Linked DNA regions of Homo sapiens: region 2 is linked to region 1. The links are contacts of gene promoters, found by promoter capture Hi-C in human tissues and cell types (Jung and others, 2019). All regions are on one chromosome and are shown on one strand. The core of a region is centred on a gene start or on the middle of the fragment in contact, and the rest is flanking DNA. Distances in the headings are between cores, read along the strand shown.

The links. The method cuts DNA at HindIII sites, captures the fragments that hold promoters and counts their contacts. A contact is called where the count stands out against the background at its distance.
Region 2: a fragment that was not itself captured here is called in contact with the fragment with the promoter of PTPRR in region 1 in 3 of the 25 tissues and cell types used here (dorsolateral prefrontal cortex, hippocampus and mesenchymal stem cells).

Annotation. Positions count from the first base shown.
Region 1 is chr12:70,919,014-70,922,590 of GRCh38, reverse strand. PTPRR (protein tyrosine phosphatase receptor type R) reads left to right here and starts at 1,853. Exons shown (of 14, transcript NM_002849.4): 1 at 1,853-2,258. The coding sequence starts at 2,201. The HindIII fragment of the contact is 3,890 bases long and covers 1-3,401 here.
Region 2 is chr12:70,746,665-70,750,725 of GRCh38, reverse strand. The region is part of intron 5 of PTPRR (protein tyrosine phosphatase receptor type R); the gene reads left to right. All of the region lies in intron 1 of LOC124902960 (a long non-coding RNA gene), which reads right to left. Among named protein-coding and RNA genes, the nearest start is that of PTPRB, 110 kb to the right of the region's middle. The HindIII fragment of the contact is 3,321 bases long and covers 1-3,023 here.

The DNA.
Region 1 (3,577 bases), core at 604-3,103:
TTTGAGTATCTATTTTGCATGAGGCATTGCTCTAGGGAGTTGGGACATATCAATAAAGTCATCAAAGTTCTTCAACATTGGAGCTCAAATTCTGTTTTGCGGGGGGGAGTAGGGAAATAGATACTAAACAATAGATTTTATAAGTAATTATTTTGGTTTGTTAGAAAGTGATACGGGAAAAGCAAACTGGAGGACAGTGAATCAGGAATAGGAGAAGAGGTTGCAGCTTAGAGTGGTTTGGGATGAAATGATAGTGCCACAGAAATGGAGTGTGCCACACGCATGGGGGAGTAGGGGGTGGAGCACGTTGCTAGAGAGGGGCTAGACATGGAGATATGTCTCTATTTTCAGCAGAGAAGGCCTGTCAAGATATTAAAAGTACATCTCATTGTCCCCTTCTCCCACTTGTTGGAGTGCTTCCTGGCCTTGTCTCTCAGAGCTGAAGATGACATAAATCATAAAAGAAATAAATGGTACCGCCTGGGCTCTCTGATCTTATAAGGTCCCACCTAATTTAAGCTCTGGTGGATAGCCTATTTCCCATTAGTTGTCTCAATTCACAGAGGATGGAGAAAGAAAGCACTGAATGAGATGTGCAGCTCAACTCAATGGGCACTTGTTAGCCCCAATTATTTGGCTAGGACAACTTTATTCAAGTTAATGGAATACAAAACTCAGCAGTTCTTATGGAGACTTCAATGTGCTGTAGAACAAACCACAGATAAATGAACTGTCTGAAAGAATAATATGAGGCACGGCTAAACAAGTGTTGTGGAAGAGAAAGATCACTGTAATCTAGAGTTAGTTAGAGTTAGGGCTTTCTGGAAAAGTGAGACCAACATTACACCTTCGAAAACTAGTGTGGTGGTGGTGCAAGTGGAGGAAAATGGGAAAGAGGCAACAGTGTCCATAAAGACACAGAGGCAGAAAGGGCAGAGGCCCTGGGATAGTTAAAAGAGAAGTCTAGCTGAGGGACTTCTTGACTTGACTAGCAGCAATTAGCCATGACTAATAAGGCTTTCCACACTCCAAAGACTTAGATGGAGGGATAAAAAACCATCTAATGGCAGACTGTGGTAGCCTCCCTAGAGACACAGAGCTGGGCCGGATGAGTCCAGGCACTGACGTGATCCATTATCTTTCACCTTAAAGAGTAAAAGGGAAACTAAAGTTAATTACCTCCACGAAACAAAAAGGTGCCTTCTTGTGCTTCAATTACATGGATATATTCTACTAGTCTAAAAGTATCTTCTCACTTCTTTCTGTCACTGTGAGGACTTGAGTCAGAAGAAAGTTTAAATACAGTCATTGAGCTGGAAAGAGTGGAAAGAGAAGCAAAGAGGGGGAAGCTGTAGGAAGGACGAAGTCACCCCCAAGATACATGGTTACTGCTTACACCAAGCAAGCTGCCTTGGGAACGCTTCCCCCGAGCAGCCAGAATGCTCAGCAGTGGAAGACACCTCTATTCCTGTAGGCGAGTCCTGGGAAGCTGGTCAATCTGCAAATGCCAATTCCCAGCAGTGAGCTCGGTCCACGTGTAAATCAAGATTTGGGGAAAGAGTAGGGTGGGTGGCATGGTTGACAATGTCATCAGCTCCCTCCTCTGACTCCTGTGGTCGTGCCCCCATCTACTCTCACTCAGCTACACCCCACCTTCGGATTTGTGATGGACGCTGGGTCCCTAGTAACCACAGCAAGTGTCTCCCCCGCACTTCCCCCTTCCCCACCCCCACCCCCACCCCCAACCACCACCCCAGCGATGGAGCCTACTCTGCTCCAAGCCGCCGCTAAGACCCGGAGAAGCGGAATTTCACTTTGAAATTCCCTTGCCTCGTGAGGGCCGGCGCTGGGCATGCTCAGTAGCCGCGGCGCTGCTGCTGGGCTGCTGGGCTGGCGCGGAGTCCACCCTGCCGTCTCCGCCTTGGCTTCTGGGCGTCCAGAAGGCCAGGCATTTGCCGCCTCTGAGCGCTTCTGTTCCCCTTACCCGCAACCTCCTACTGCTCTTCCTCTCTCCCTCTCTTAGGGAGGTTGAAGCTGGTGCTGGTTTCTGTCGGCGCCACAGACTGACTGCTCTGCAAACCCCAGCCGAGGACCTGAATCCCGGAGACTAGAAGACCCTTGGCGGTGGCTCTTTCTAATAGCACTTTACCTGAAGTGGGGTCGTGGTGGAGTTTCTCCTCCACCTCTCAATGCAAACACTATGCGGAGAGCAGTCTGCTTCCCTGCGCTGTGCCTGCTCCTTAATCTTCACGCTGCAGGTAAGGGGTTGCCAGGCTTAGAGCCGGAGCTGTGCATGAGATGGGAAACTGCACATGCTTAAGGACTCTAGGAAAAGCTTGCCTTGCGAAGAAAGCCTTTCTAAAAAGGTAAAACAGGACAGTACCTGACAGGGAAGGGGTGAGGGAGTCGTGCACCTGTTGGAAAACTGAGGCCGAAAACTTAACCTAAAATTAGCTCTTGATTTTTCTTTACTTTATACGAAAATAGTGAACATTTTCAATATGAATACAGGTTTGCTCCCCCCTTCGCCTCCCCTCCGTCTAGATTCCCTGCTCTTGTTTCTAGGCTATGCACTTAACTGTCAATTTTTCAGGAGAGGGATAAGACATCCTGCTAGATGTAACCTTTTCTACTGCAGCGGCTACTACATTCATAAGGTCTCTTGGTCTAGCGAGCGCTCATAGGAAGGCATTGGCTGTAACCTGATGGACCACATCTCCGCCCAAAAGATCGAAATACATGGTTCACATTAGTGATGCTGCACCAGGCTCCTTTGGCCCCTGCTCTTGTCACTCGAATTTTCTAAGCCAATAAGAGGAAGAAAAGGTTTCAAATAGAATCCTCTTGTCTCTTTCAGCACCGTGGCTAGCGTCCGCTGGCATATTAAAAAAAAAAAAAAAAAAAAAAAAAAAAAAAACAATTACAGTTCCAAAGCTGACAACCCTGGGTTAGGCACTGTCCCTCGGACAGATTTGATAAGGTGTAACCAAGAGTAACAGTGAGACTGCTCCCAAATATAAATAGATTTGAGGCACCAGAATCAATATCAAGTCTCGTGAGGAAGCAAACCTTGGGAAGTACCTGAGAGATATTATATGTGGTGTCCCTGCTTTTTGCATACATAGCACCTCTATTTAATGCAGACAGACTTGCTAGGCTGAATTCCTTATCATTGTCACACACACATGAACCAAAATAAAATATGGCAGGGAGATTTTAGAAACCCTACTGTGACAGCAGTTGTCCATGCAGTAGTCCTGTAACAACCAGAGACGAGGCATTTTCCCTGAGTGTGCTTCTCATCCAATCACACATATCCATTCATTCCTTCAAGCAACATTTGCTGAGTGTATACTATGTTCTAGGGGTAATGAGTAAAAATAATTGTTCTGAAATTACAATCCTTGCAGTATCTTTTTTAAAAGAGTGGGTGAATTTTATTCTCTGTGTACAATAGTAGGAGTGAAATATGGTACTTTCTTATTCCAGCTAACGCTATTATTTAAATGTATCATGAATCTTTTGAGCAAATAATGCATAGGATTATTAAAGCTATTATTAAATACACATGTTAATT
Region 2 (4,061 bases), core at 114-2,613, 170 kb after region 1:
TCTGAAAAGTAACAGAGGAACCCGCAGCACACAGACGGGAAGTTCATATTCACAAGAAAAGAAGTACTACCTAATAGGATTAGCACAAAGCCAAGTTTATCTGATGGAACTTACCACAGAGGAGTCAAGAGTTCATGTTTAGGGACATGTCAAAGCGATTATCTAAAATAAGCTCATCTTTCTAAGTGTTCAAATTATTTTGATAATAAGCTTGATTTAAAGTAAGTGTTTCACGTGCATTTCTCAGTGATACTTGTACTATCACTTTCGTGATTCTGAAACACATGTATTCCAACTCTGTTTCCCATAGTTTTGTTGATTCCATGACAAAGGAAAGATATAACTCAGAATTTTCCCCCTGGCATTGATTATATTTATAACAAATCAAGTGCCTCCATTTGCATTGGCATTCCTACATGCCGTAGAAATGAAAAGCATGGGTTTTATTATAAAATTATATAGGTAAATTGCTGTAATGGAAGGTTGTATGTGCTATGTAACAACAACATAAGACTTGGCAGAATTTTTGAAAAGTGGCATATTGTTTACTTTCCTTAAAATACAAAAAAAAAATGTTGCCAGGCATAAAATTAGACAGGCATGACATTTTCAAATATGCTGACTTATTTAGCACCTCACAAATGTGAATGTGCAGTGGGTGGAGCGACAAATAGAAAAATACAGTTTTCCAAGAAAAAATGTGTGGGCAACTTCCAATCCATTCAGTCTGTTTTAGATGAAAGAAACTTACTAAGAAGAATTAGTTCTTAAACTTGAACAAATAATAGAAAGAACACCATTTATCATCTAAATTAGACATCCAAATGTCCTTACAGGTTTATTAACAAGTACAAAGACATTTATGAAATATAGCTAGAGATGTCTACAGGCCAGATTGCTTCTGGAAAGCAGTTTTAGAAATCACATGAAAATAGTTGTTTGGATCAATAAAAACACTGGCATGTTAGACCCATAGGAGAGTCATCCATATGGGAGGGAAAGAGTTTCTCTAGTTGTAGTCTGGTAGCCGCAGCAAGAAATCCTACATTGAACCACCTGCTATAGCCTTAACATCATGTAATAAATACATGTCAAAGGTGGACATAATTTTCTCATTTGTTAAATATAATCCCTCGGGATGAAGGGAACTAGGACCAGATTCCTAACTGGAATGATTGGTTAGGTAGGCATATATCTCAAATTAATTTTCAATTTTTTTTCTGTATTAAGAAGAATACAATTGTCTTAATAGTAATAACATTAAAAATTAGTTTCTTCCATTTATTGCACACTTATTGGTACTAAACTGGTACTAAATTTACTGTAGTGCTAAATGCCTAACATGTTTTAGTTTCCTAATTTTACTTATGAGAAAACTAAGATTCAGAAAAAATAAATGACTTGACCAAGAACATGCAATGGGTGGATATGGGGGTGGCAGAGTAGAAAGTGGTAAAAATTCAAACCCAAGTCTATCTAAATTGAAAGTCAGCATTCTTTACCATAATTCCATTTGTTTTCATAAAGGAGTCAAACTGTGGTTGTTGTTGTTTGTTGTTGTTGTTGTTGTTTTTAGTCTTATCACTCTGTCTTGTGAACATATATTTCTGGCCACAAATAACTCCAGTAGTAGCAGATGCGAATGGCTGTATTTATCAGAGCCATTCTACCCAGATGGAACTGGTAAATGTGTGCCACATTATACCTCTGTGCTGTGGGCACACCTCTATTTTTGCACTTAGTACTTTGTACTGAACATAATTTTTACACATTTATCTTTTCTGGAAGCCTATGAATTCCCAGAAGACAGAGTTCTGTGTTACTTTTGCATCTACAATATCTTGTTTATGGAATGTAGTAGGGATTGACTCAGGATTATTAAATTAAAAGAGTGAATGAACTCTTTCAGAACTAATTGTAAAACACTGTAAAGAACAAATGTTAAAGACTAGTGGTTGGTGGCATCGTTTTGAAATCTGAACACATTTGACAGAATGTTTTGTGTTACTCATGAGATTTTTGAACGAAAATTTTAAGCTGCAGAAAAGCTTCATCGAATTTTTTTAGCTTCCTCCCATTTCTGTGTTCCTCTGGTTTTTTTATTCCCACTATTATTTTCTTTCTCTTGCTATAGTTTGAGTTTTACAGCTCCTCTCATTCAATAATCTGTTCTCTTTTCCTTTTTTAAATTATTACATGACTTTATTCCAGTCCAAGAGTCAAACAAGCTCTTGGAGATGAAGGCAAAATGTTGACTTGCCATTGCTACGGTAAGCTTTTAGGTTGAGTTTTTCAACAAAGTGAATTCCCATAGAGAAATATGAATATGCTATATTCCAGATCTCAATCTGTGCAGAGAAAAATCTCTGACACACTTTTCCAGATGCTTTCGGAAAGAGGTTTCAAAGAAGGACATGAGACTTTGGAGGAAACAATAGAGTTGAATGATCACATACCTGGAAGTCACAAAACTTGGATTCTAGGTTTTCTTTCCAAACCTCCATAACTCATCCAATAGCTCAGGACTTAAATGTGAAATGAGGAGATTACACCACAAAAATTTTATGATCCCTTACGTCAGGGTTTTACAAACAACACTACTGACATTTCGGAGTTACTATTTCTGTTGGCGGGGGTGTGTGGTGAGCCTTTCCAATGCATTGTAAAGGTAGTTAGCCTCTGCCTACCAGATGCCAGTAGCACCCTTTCCCTTCTCCTTCCCCCACACCCTGAAAATATGACAACCAAAAATACCTCCAGACACTGCCAAACGTTTCCTGAGGGCAAAATCCCTGCCAGTTGAGAATCACTGCCTTATAGCTTAATTTCATGACAACTACCCTATTGCCAAGTAGCAATCTCTTCCATTTTTTCCATATTTTTTCAGACAGCCCAATCTCTTGAGTATTTTTAAACACTATCTTATATACATCATACATTCTCCAGGTTCTACTTTTCCCTAATTAAAGATGTAGAAATCAGTTTGTACACGTACCACACAGAGACAGGTTGCAAAGTTGACCTGTAACCAGACATGAAGTAAACAGATGACTGATTGGAAAATATGTTACAAAGGTTTCTCATCAAAAACATAAGCTCATGAATGGTAAGGAAGGACTTTGGACTAGACTTTGTTTTACACTAATATAAATCATAAAATTGACCTGTCAAGAACAATTGAGAAGGTCAAGATTTCCTTGGCTTTCCCATTTTCGTTGTTGATTCATATTTCTCCAAAATCCAAGTGTAAACAGGCAAGCAAATGTTCTCATATGCATATTATATTTAGATGTGAAGAGCTTAAAATATATAATATATGCCTTATCTTCTAAGTGTATTTTTGTAAAGGTACAGATATATTTGTTTCTTCATTTGGGAAAATAACTTTCTTGCAACTAAAACAATATTTTAAATTCTGTTGCCTCATCGTTTAGTAATTAAATGTTTAGCTGAACACAATAAGCCTAAAATATATGTATCATCTGATTGATACTGTTCTAGTGCAGGTTTTGTTTTTACACCGTGAAGGTCATGGAAACTGAAGAGAAGCAGTGAGTTAAAAACCTTAGACACTATGCACATGATAAAGGCATTCATCTTCAGTCTTTTCCATCCTATAGCTTAAAAAAACACATTACACTTGCTTGAAAGTAGTTATTATAAAGGTAAGAAGACCTTTTACTTAATATCAGACATCTTTTCTTTCTCATTCATGTGATAAATATTTATCATGTGAATATTCCAAATCCACCCTTTTTTCAAAATTTAAGCTTTAACTTTACCCTACCAGAGTCAATGAATATCACCAGTATAAAAGTTTCCAGATTACAAGGAGGTGGACTGACATAAAAAACAATAAAATGTCTTTCTTTTCTTAGGAGTTCAATGTTTAATATGCATTTCTAGTTCTATCTCGTAGGTGCATAGTCTTTTCCCTTAAGGAGAGCTCGAGGTTACAGTGAGCTATGATCACAGCACTGCACTTTCGCTTGGGCAACAGAGCCAGATCCTGTATCGAAATAAAATAAAATAAATATTAAAATTTAAGAGGGCAAAGTGGT